Linked DNA regions of Homo sapiens: region 1 is linked to region 2. Evidence: promoter capture Hi-C in 16 types of primary human blood cells and fetal thymus (Javierre and others, 2016). All regions are on one chromosome and are shown on one strand. Each heading gives the region's core, a stretch centred on a gene start or on the middle of the fragment in contact. The rest is flanking DNA. Distances are from core to core; before and after follow the strand shown. Region 1 overlaps ATXN2 (ataxin 2). Region 2 holds the start of NAA25 (N-alpha-acetyltransferase 25, NatB auxiliary subunit).

The links. The method cuts DNA at HindIII sites, captures the fragments that hold promoters and counts their contacts. A CHiCAGO score of 5 or more calls a contact.
Region 1: a contact is called between a fragment that was not itself captured here and the fragment with the promoter of NAA25 in region 2, in 1 of 17 cell types (monocytes). The highest score is 5.3, in monocytes.

What each region holds. Positions count from the first base shown.
Region 1 is chr12:111,585,662-111,591,824 of GRCh38, forward strand. The region is part of intron 1 of ATXN2 (ataxin 2); the gene reads right to left. Among named protein-coding and RNA genes, the nearest start is that of ATXN2, 11 kb to the right of the region's middle. The HindIII fragment of the contact is 4,595 bases long and covers 1,459-6,053 here.
Region 2 is chr12:112,105,418-112,110,734 of GRCh38, forward strand. NAA25 (N-alpha-acetyltransferase 25, NatB auxiliary subunit) reads right to left here and starts at 3,366. Exons shown (of 24, transcript NM_024953.4): 1 at 3,299-3,366. The coding sequence starts at 3,356. RefSeq lists an enhancer at 1,034-1,535 and silencers at 3,136-3,215, 3,236-3,315. The HindIII fragment of the contact is 1,965 bases long and covers 2,334-4,298 here.

The sequences.
Region 1 (6,163 bases), core at 2,506-5,005, 520 kb before region 2:
CGGTGTGTGACCAATATCTGTACTCCCAGCTACTCAGGAGTCAGGCAGGAGAACTGCTTGAACCTGGGAGGCGGAACTACAGTGAGCAGAGATGGCGCCATTGCACTCCAGCCTGGGTGACAAGAGCAAAACTCCATCTCAAAAAAAAAAAAAAAAAAAAAAAAAAAAACCTCCCAGAATGGTATACTTGTTGAGCTCTTGTGTCTGTTTTTTAGTAGTTCCCATTTTAGTAGTTCCCAGGCTCTTTGCTTTGTTTTTTTGAGATAAGGTCTCATTTTAACGCCCAGGCTGGAGTGCAGTGGTGCAATCATGGCTCACCTCGACATCCAGACTTAAGTGAACCACCTGCCTCAGCCTCCCAAGTAGCTGAGACTACAGAAGTGCACGACCATGACTGGCTAAATTTTTTGTATTAATATTTTTTGTTGAGATGGGGTTTCCCTGTGTTGCCCAGGCTGGACTTGAACTCCTGGGCTCAGGTAATCTGCCTGCTTCAGCCTCCCAAAGTGTTGGGATTACAGGTGTGAGCCACCATGCCCAGCCACCAGTCTTCCAAACTTTTTTTTTTTTTTTGAGACAGAGTCTCACTCTGCTCTGTGGCCCAGGCTGGGGCACAGTGGCACAATCTGAGCTCACTGCAACCTTCACCTCCCGGGTTCAAGCGATTCTCCTGCCTCAGCCTCCCAAGTAGCTGGGATTACAGGCGCCCGCCCAGCCCCAAGTCTGGTTTTTTTTTTTTTTTTTTTTTTTTAGACGGAGTCTCCCTCTGTCGTCAGTGCAGTGGCCCGATCTCGGCTCACTGCAACCTCTGCCTCCCGGGTTCAAGCAATTCTCCTGCCTCAGCCTCCCGAGTAGCTGGGACTACAGGCACACATCACCACGCCCATTTAATTTTTTTGTATTTTTAGTAGAGATGGGGTTTCACCCTGTTGGCCAGAATGGTCTCAATCTCTTGACCTTGTAATCCGCCCTCCTCAACCTCCCAAAGTGCTGGGATTACAGGGGTGAGCCACCACGCCCGGCCCTTTTTCTGTTTTTCAGTAGAGACAGGGTTTCACCATGTTGGCCAGACTGGTCTCGAACTCCTGACCTCAAGTGATCCACCCTCCTTGGCCTCCCAAAGTGCTGGGATTACAAGCGTGAGCCACCGCACCCAGCTAAGTCTTTCAACTTTCTATCACGCTACTGTTATTTCTCATTGCTGTTAATATATCTGCCTCTGAAAACATTGCTTTTCTACTTGCTGCCAATATGTACATCAGAAAAGAAAGCTAGATAGAATCATGTGTAAAGTAAAAGTTCTCAAAGAGGCCATAAAGAACTCTCCAGACCAGAGGCTAAAGCAGGAGGACAGTTTAAGCCCAGAAGTTGGAGGCCAGCCTGGGCAACATAACAAGACCCCCATTTCTACCAAAAAAAAAAAAAAAAAAAAGAACTCCCCTTTCTAAAATCTGCTCAAGCTTCAGTGAAAAGACATTTAGTCTTCAATTCCTGATTTCGAAATGTGTTTCAGGAATGAAAATAGTTAACTGCACAAAGTCCACAGCAAATGTTTATAAACCCGAAAAGAAAAATGCAGTACTTGTTTCAAAACCCGCCCTTTATAAAAAACTAAAATTATAATCAAGATTAATTCCACTTAGAAAAATTATTAAGAATATTTTAACATGACTTTAAAAAGCAATATGAAAAACGTCAATGAAAAATATTTGACCTGGCCAGCCACGGTGCCTCACACATGTAATTAAAGCACTTTGGGAAAACTAGGTGGGTGGATCATTTGAATTTAAGAGTTTGAGACCAGCCTGGGCAACATGGCTAAACCCTGTCTCTACAAAATATACAAAAGCCAGGCATGGTGGCATACACCTGTAGTTCCAGCTACTCGGGAGACTGAGGTAGGAGGACTGCTTGAGCCCAGGATGTTGAGGCTGCAGTGAGCCATGACCATACCACTATACTCCAACCTGGCCAACAGGGTAAGACTCAGTCTCAAAAAAAAGGAAATTTAAAAAAAAACTGATCATTGGCAACACTGTTCAATAAAGCCTCTCAAGGCAATGGTTTCAGGAGACCAACATTCTAAAGTTCTGATACAGTTAATAAAAATAAACCACGTTCACTTATATTGCCGACAAGCCTCATACCACAACTAATGAGTTTTACAAAGACTTCATTATAGAATGAAATTTTATTACATTCCCAAAATGTAGTTAGCTATTAATCATGGCACGAAACTGACATTTTCGGGCTGGACACAGTGGCTCACACCTGTAACACCAGCATGTTAGGAGGCCTAAGTGGGGTGGATCACTCGAGGCCATGAGTTCAAGATCAACATGGCAAAACTCCACATCTACTGAAAATACAAAAAAACTAGGCAGGCACTGTGGGGCGCACCAGTAGTTCCAACTACTTGGGAGGCTGAGGTGGGAGGATGGCTTGAACCCGGGAGACAGAGGTTGCAGTGAGCCGTATTTGCAACACTGCACTCCAGCCTTAGCAACAGAGCCAGATCCTATCACAAAAATAAATAAATAAATAAATAAATAAATAAATAAAACAAATTGACATTGTAAAGTCACTTGACACAACTTCAGGGTTAAAATTACAAGCAATCTATGTAAGAATCTTTAAATGTTAATGAGAATTTCAAATTTTCACATGAATGCAAACACAAATAATTACCAGCAAATAAAAAGTTAAGGTTGCCAGGCATGGGAGGCCAAGGCAGGTGGATCACTTGAGGCCAGAAGTTCCAGACCAGCCTGGCCAATATGGTGAAACCCCATCTCTACTAAAATACAAAAATTAGCCAGGCGAGATGGTGCGTGCCTGCAGTCCCAGCTACTCAGGAGGCTGAGGCAGAAAAATCGCTTTAACCTGGGAGGCAGAGGTTGCAATGAGCCGAGATCGCACCACTGCACTCCAGCCTAGGTGACAGAGCGAGACTCCGTCTCGGAAAAAAAAGAAAAAAAAAAAGTTAAGGTTAACAGCTGTGACAAGTTTTCATAAACAACCCAGACTCATAAAAAAAATACCAAACCAGGCCGGACGCGGTGGCTCATGCCTATAATCCCAGCACTTTGGGAAGCCGAGGCGGGCAGATCAAGAGGTCGGGAGATTGAGACAATCCTGGCTAACACAGTGAAACCCCATCTCTACTTAAAATGCATAAAAAAAATTAGCCGGGCATGGTGGCGGGCGCATGTAGTCCCAGCTACTCGGGAGGCTGAGGCAGGAGAATGGCATGAACCTGGGAGGTGGAGCTTGCAGTGAGCTGAGATTGTGTCACCGCACTCTAGCCTGGGCGACAGAGCGAGATTTCTCAAAAAAAAAAAAAAAAAAAAAAAAAAAAAAAAACTAAACCAAACTGGTCACGGTGGCTCACACCTGTAATCCCAGCACTTTGGGAGGACGAGGCGGGTGGATCATCTAAGGTCAGGAGTTCGAGACCAGCCTGGCCAACATGATGAAACCCCATCTCTACTAAAAATACAAAAATTAGCCAGGCATGGTGGCACACAGCTGTTATCCCAGCTACTCAGGAGGCTGAGGCAGGACAATCACTTGAACCTAGGAGGCGGAGGTTGCAGTAAGCCGAGATCACATCACTGCATTCCAGCCTGGGTGACAGGGTAAGATCCTGCAACACACACACACAAACAATAATAATAATTTAAAAAACCAGCCAGGCATAGTGGCTCACACCTGTAATCCCAGCACCTTGGGAGGCCAAGGAGGGCAAATTGTTTGAGGTCAGGAATTCAAGGCCATCCTGGGCAACAGGTAAAATCTCTGTCCCTACAAAATAAAAACAAACAAAAAAGCTAGGCGCAGTGGCTTATGCCTGTAATTCCAGCACTTCAGGAGGCCAAGGTATATGGATCACCTGAGGTCGGGAGTTCGAGACCAGCCTGGCCAACATGATAAAACCCCATCTCTACCAATAATACAAAAATTAGCCAGGTGTAGTGGCGCATGCCTATAATCCCAGCTACTCGGGAGGCTGAGGCATGAGAATCATTTGAACGCAAGAGGCAGAGGTTGCACTGAGCCGATATCCTGCCACTGCACCCCACCCTAGGCAACAGAGTGAAACAAAAATTTTGCTGGGCATAGTGGCGCATGCCTGTGGTCCCAGCTACTCAGGAGGCTGAGATAGGAGGATCACTTGGGCCTGAGAACTCGAGGTTGCAATGAGCCATGATGGCACCACTGCACTCCCGCCTGGGTGACAGAGCTAGAACCTGTCTCAAAAAAATAAGGCGAGGCGCAGTGGCTCATGCTGTAATCCCAAAACTTTGGGAGGCCAAGACAGGCAGATCACCTAAGGTCAGGAGTTCAAGACGAGCCTGGCCAACATGGTGAAACCCCATCTCTACTAAAAAAAAATACAAAAATTTGCCAGGTGTAGTGGTGCATGCCTGTAATCCCAGCTACTCAGGAGGCTGAGGCAGGAGAATCACTGGAACCTGGGAAGTGGAGGTTACAGTGAGCCGAGATTATGCCACTGCTTTCCAGACTGGGTGACAGAGTGAGACTCTGTCTCAAAATAAATAAATAACCAAGGATTTAACATTTATGTAGATTTCACACCACGTAAGTACAGAACCACATACATTAAAAACAAAGAAAAGAAAATAGACCTCCTATTTTAGCAAGCCAAAATCAAGGTTACAAAAAGATATCCTGAAGGGCAAGTACTGTCCGTGACTGTATTCCATAAAACAAGCCTGTTAGGGGGCCGGACGCAGCAGCTCACGCCTGTAATTCCAGCACTTTGGGAGGCTGTTGGGCGGATCACAAGGTCAGGAGATCGACACCATCCTGGCCAACATGGTGAAACCCCGTCTCTACTAAAAATACAAAAATTAGCTGGGCATCACAGTGTGCGCCTGTAGTACCAACTACATGGGAGGCTAAGGCAGGAGAATCGCTTGAACCCGGGAGGCAGAGGTTGCAGTGAGCTGAGATCGTGCCACTGCACTCCAGCCTGGTGACAGAGCGAGACTCCATCTAATTAAAAAAAAAAAAACAGGCCTGTTAGGAACCAGACTGCACAACAGGAGCTGTGTGAGCATTAGCACCTGAGCCCCACCTGTTAGATCAGGTGCAGCATTAGGTTCTTATAGAAGCACAAACCCTACTGGGAACTGCATATAGCAAGAGATGTAGGTTGTATGCTCTTTATGAGAATCTAACAAATGCATAATGATCTGAGGTGGAACAATTTTTTTTTTTTTAGACGGAGTCTCACTTTGTCCCCCAGGCTGAAGTACAGTGGTGCTATCTCAGCTCACTGCAAGCTCTGCCTCCCGGGTTTCATGCCATTCTCTTGCCTCGGCCTCCGGAGTAGCTGTGACTACAGGCGCCCTCCACCGCGCCCAGCTAATTTTTTTGTATTTTTAGTAGAGGGGGGTTTCACCATGTTAGCCAGGATGGTCTCGATCTCCTGACCTCGTGATCTGCCCGCCTCGGCCTCCCAAAGTGCTGGGATTACAGGCGTGAGCCACCGTGCCCGGCCGGTGGAACAGTTTCATCTCAAAATCATCCCCTGCCCCTATGGAAAAACCATCTTCCACAAAACCGGTCCCTAGTGTTAAAAAGGTTGAGGACCATTGCCTTAAAATACACAGCATGATCTTGTGTATATATTACGTTTCTATTTATTTCAAGGGAGGGGCCCCAGAACTTAAAATTTAAAAATAAAAATAAAGGGAGGGGGCTCGGTGCAGTGGCTCACACCTGTAATCTCAGCACTTTGGGAAGCTGAGGCAGGAGGATCACTTGAGCCCAGGAGTTTGAGACCAATCTGGGCAACATGGCAGGACCCTGTCTCTACAAAAAATTTAAATGTTAGCCAGCTGGTGTACACCTGTAGTTCCAGCTACTCAGGAGGCTAAGACAGGAGAAATGCTTGGCCCCATAGATTGAGGCTGCACTCCAGCCTGGGTGACAGAGGGAGACCTTGACTCTAAAAAAATAAATAAAGGGAGAGGTGTAATAAAATCCTACAAATATTGCTTTGGGCAAGTCCCCTAATCTCTCAAAGCTTAGAGTTTTTGCCTTCCATTTTTAAGATTTAGGATTTTTTGTTGTTGTTGTTGTTGTTACTGTTTTTTAAGAGACAGGGTAGGCTGCGCACGGTGGCTCATGCCTA
Region 2 (5,317 bases), core at 2,116-4,615:
ATCAAGTATGGGTTCCAGTAAGGTCATGGGTGGAGGTTTTCAAAAACGAAAAATGCAATACCCAAACTTATTAGTAATGTGAGATGCACTGGGAAGATGTTTCAAATCTATGCACACAGAAAAGCTATTCCAACCCTAGACACCACCAGTAAAATTTCAACCCACCACAATTTATCACCACATAGCCCTGTCCACATATACCCTCAATGAATTCCAGCAAGAGCTGAGGCCCCAAGCAAGGTTTCCAACACAATTGTAAAATAAATCCTGAAACCTTGGCAGTACAAATACTGTTGTACAAAGACAGTGATGCTACTGAATCTGAACTTGGTGAAGAGCTGAGCTCTCAGTGAGAATGTCTATGTTCAAATCCCAGCTCTACAACTTGGTAGCTACAACCTTGAGCAAGTTAATCTCTAGGCTTCAGTTTGATCACAATAATCTTACCTACCTAATAGGGCAGTCAGCCCACCAGTAAACACTAATTAATGCTGATAGTTGTTGAATTTTTGGCTGGTGGGCAAGTACCACCATAGATGAGTTTGTTCATTTGTCAGAATGTCTGAATTCAAGGAACCATGGTTGTTTGGGGGTAGTAATGTATTTAAACAACAAAAGTGTGGAGTTCAAAAGTCAAATGTGCTTAAGTGCTGAATTCACGGACAGTCTGTACCGTTCTTTTCCTAGTCCTGCCAGTTTATACTAATCGCCTTAGAATTACTGAAGAAAGCCTCTTCTAATCCTCTTCCCATGTACATGTTACAAAAGCTACATAATTCTGACTTCAGTTTTGAGAATATAACTTGTTAATATATCCTGATGTTTAGTGATGTGAAATGGACATGGTGTTTCCCATTAGACAGTCAAAACACTATTAATTCTAAATAACTATGGGACCAAAGAAATTCTCTTTGGTCCTCAAGAACAATTTTAAAAATCAAATTATTCTTGAAAGTATTGAGTGTTTTTAGTTTAAAAAAAAAAAAGTCTGCAGGCAGCTGCTGCACAAAGCTGTAATGAGTCACAAACTATGAACCCTGGATTCAGTTCTCACCTTCCATCACCCACCTTGTATATATATCTCTGCCCTCTGAAAATATACACTGGAGGGCAAGGGCATGAGAATATGCAGCCCCGGGGAAATAGGAAATCAGAGTCCTTTCTCTGCCACTTACCATCTGTGTGACCTCAGGCAAATCAGTGTCTTCAGCTCAAAGTGAGGTAGTTTCTAGCACAGTGGTTAAGAAGGTGAGCCTGGGCCAGGCACAGTGGCTCACACCTGTAATCCCAGCACTCTGGGAGGCTGAGGCAGGACTGCTTGAGCTCAGGAGTTTTAGACTAGACTGGGCAACATGACGAAACCCATTCTCTACAATATATACAAAAATTAGCCGGCATGGTGGCGGGCACCTGTAATCCCAGCTACTCAGGAGACTGAGGCAGGAGAATCACTTGAACCCAGGAGGCGGAGGCTGGTTGCAGTGCACTGTGATTGTGCAACTGCACTCTAGCCTGGATGACAGAATGAGACTGTCTCCAAAAAAAAAAAAAAAAAAAAAAAAAAGGTGAGCCTGGAGCCAGGCATGGTGGCTCACACCTATAATCCCAGCACTTTGGGAGGCTGAGTAGGTCAAGAGTTCAAGTCCAGCCTGGCTAACATGGTAAACTCCTGTCTCTACTAAAAACATGGAAGTTCGCTGGGCCTGGTGGCGTGCAACTGTAATCTCAGCTACTCAGGAGGCTGAGGCAGGAGAATCGCTTGAACCTGGGAGGCAGAGGGTGCAGTGAACTGAGATTGTGCCACTGTACTCCAACCTGGACGACAGAGTGAGACTCATCTCAAAAGAAAAAAAAGGTGAGCCTGAAACAGTCCACAGGGGTTCAAATTCTAGCTCCAAGAAATACTAACTGAGTGGCCTTAGACAAATTACACAACAACAATAAAGCCTCAGTTTCCTCATCTGTTTTTTTTTTTGTTGTTGTTGTTGTTAAAGGGTTCAGGGGCAGGAAAAAACAGTAGCCACCTCTTGAGAATGGGTGAAGATTATATTAGATAACCCATATAAAAGGCCAAGGCCAGTGACTGTCATAATGAGTCATCTATAAACCTTAGCTATAGGATTGTTGCTAAAATCAAATGAGATGTGAGAGTAAAAAAAAAAATCACACAAATTATGAAATAAAAGCCGGACTAACTGTGGCCAGAAACAAAGTTAACCACCGCCCCCCGCTCCCAAAACGATTCCCACCTTGGAGAGAAGCCTCCAATTTAGTAACATCCACATGAGGTCTATAAATACGATGTCTACTTTTGTAAAAACCACTGACCTTGAAGCTTCCTCACCATTAAGTGAGATAGACCAAGACCATAAAACCATCTAAGAGGAAAGGAAATGCAAAAAGGACCAATCCAATTACACATTTCGGTTATTGGAAAAGGGTTTCTCCCAAACTCAAAATCTGTGATTTTTCACTACCAGGGTAAATGGATGAGATGACATCAAGGTCTTCAAGTCTGCGGGTTGAGGTAAGAGTTGTGGAGAGGGATCTGCTTAGCACAGGGAAGGAAAGCTGCAGAGAAAACCACAGAGAAGCTGCAGAAAGGAGAAGCCCTCCAGTAGCTCTGCATGCCCCTCTGACACGAGCTATCACAATCTCTTCACCGCTATTTTAGGCCCAAGACCCCCTCCCCCCGCCTCCCACGTGTGACCAGAGTAGCTGCTTCTCCACCCAACAGCTCTGGATTGGGAGCCTGGAATCTCGGGCCTGCTCCTGACTCGATCTGGGTGACCTTGCGTCAGCCCCTTCCCCACTCCGGACCTCAGTTTCTCCTATGCACCGAAGCCCACCTAGTCAGACAACCCTCTAGGCCCAATTCCCGTAAATAAAAAAAAATCTCTGGTAGGGAATCTTCCCTCAGGCAGGGCGTCCCACCCTCGTGCCGGAGCCGGCTTCCACCTTCGGGGAGATCTCCGGTCTCCCTAGGAGCGGCGGTAACGATGCAGCCTGCGGGTAGCGCAGGTGTCTGCAGAACCACGCGTCCCACGGGGCCTGCCAAGCAGGCCAGCTCTGCCGACCAGCTGCTGCCCAGACCGCGCCACTACCACCCCAAGGCTGAGGAAGGTTGGGCCGGCGCCTACGCGAGGCCCGCGGCTGCGGCCTAGTGGCCCGCGCGGCCCGCCCCCCTGCGCCTGCCCGGCCCGCGCGCCGGCCCTCAGCACCCCTCCTGGGCTTTCGCCCCAGCCTCGGCAGCCCTCGGCGCGTCGGGCTGGCGAGCGGGCTGGTCCAAGACACTCACCGTAAATGGGCCGGAGGCGCCTGTCGTTAGGGTCCTGCACATGGCCCCGCGTCGCCATGATGACAAGCGCAGAACCACAGTGCGCACGCGCGGGGCAGGACCCCGGGAAAGGGCTATTAAAGGGCCAGCGTCGATCTCGCTTGTCTATCACGATAGTCGCGGTGCTGCGACTGAACGCGCCTGCGCGGAAAGGGAAGCATCCACCCTTGCCGATTGCCACCTCTTTAAACGCTGTTCCTTCACTTAGCAGGTGGGATCAAGCTGGCAAGAGGAGGCAGCTGTTGCTGTTAAAGTCTTCCGAGTCACTGACTGGGAAGTTAGGAGAGGAGGGGAGAAAGCTCTCAAAGTTAGGGTTCGGCTGCTCCTGTTTATCCTATTTATTCTCCGTCCTGAAGAACCAGCTAGACTTGGCTGTGATTAATCGCAGAGGAACCAGAAACTCCCGGGGGAGAGAGACCCAGGGGAAAGTTGGGGAAGCGGGGCTGATCAACAGCAAAAATCTGCCAAAAAAGTTCGAGAGAGCCGGGCGCTGTGGCTCAGCCTGTAATCCCAGCACTTTGGGAGGCCGAGGCGGGCGGATCACAAGGTCAGGAGATCGAGACCATCCTGGCTAACACGGTGAAACCCCATCTCTACTAAAAATACAAAAAAAGTTAGCGGGGCGTAGTGGCGGGCGCCTGTAGTCCCAGCTACTCATGAGGCTGAGGCAGGAGAATGGCGTGAACCCAGGAGGCGGAGCTTGCAGTAAGCCGAGATCGCGCCACTGCACCCCAGCCTGGGCGACAGAGCGAGACTCCATCTCAAAAAAAAAAAAAAAAAAAGAAAAAAGTTCGAGAGCCCTCCACCACCTGTTCCTGGACCAAACTGAGCGTCAGGCTGCTGTTTCTCCTGGTTCAGTAAGGAGATGCAGATGAACTGGAGAGGAAGCGAGTTTTTATTTCTGCAACCAGTTACAGGGAGAAGGCCTGGAAATTATCACCAGACCAACTTAAAATTACAAAGCTTTCCAGAGCTTATATACCTTCTAAGCTATATGTCTACGTGTAAATGTGCATTCATCTAAAGACATAAGTGATTAACTCGCCGGGCGCGGTGGCTCATGCCTGTAATCCCAGCACTTTGGGAGGCCAAGGCGGGCGGATCACGAGGTCAGGAGATCGAGACCACGGTGAAACCCCATCTCTACTAAAAATACAAAAAATTAGCTGGGCGCAGTGACAGGCGCCTGTAGTCCCAGCTACTAGGGAGGCTGAGGCAGGAGAATGGCGTGAACCCGGAAGGCGGAGCTTGCAGTGAGCCGAGATCCCGGCACTGCACTCCAGCCTGGGCGAGGGAGGCTCCGTCTCAAAAAAAAAAAAATAATAATAATAATAATTGATTAACTCACTTTAGTCTATAACTAAGGTTTGAGTCCTGAAGACTTTCCTTTGAAGCCTCAGTAAATTTACTTAATCTAAATGGCAATAGGTGCTGGGGTGATTATCCTTATCTTGCCTCCTACTAAATCACGGAGGTTTGGGGAGTTACTTCAGACCCCCAATAAAATTTGTTTAATCCTAAATGGGTCCTGTTAGGAATTCTTTCGTTATTTTGTCATGCTTTAAGGCCAAGGAAAGGCCTAGGCAAAACTCTTGGTGGGCTTTTGTTACATTCCATCCTTTGTATAAGGGCACTGGCTTTTTTTTTTTAGCTTTTAATATGTAACTTAACCACTCAGTTAGTACTGAAACAGTTGTTATGGAGGCCTGTGTTAGTGAGACCTGGCCTGCCACACACCCTTCTCCCAGGACTCAGCCAACAAAGAAGCATCCTAGATGAATACTTACTCGGTATCTGCCTAGAGTATTTAAATGCAAGGTCTTTACATTTATTCTCTCATTTAATTTTCATAACTGTCATCGTATTTCCCTGGGAGGTAGATCTTATTATTACCTCTCTTTTTACAGATAGATTTATTCGTACAACACTGAGTTATTGAGTGCCTATTATTTGACACACTCTTGTTTTAGGCACAGAGGA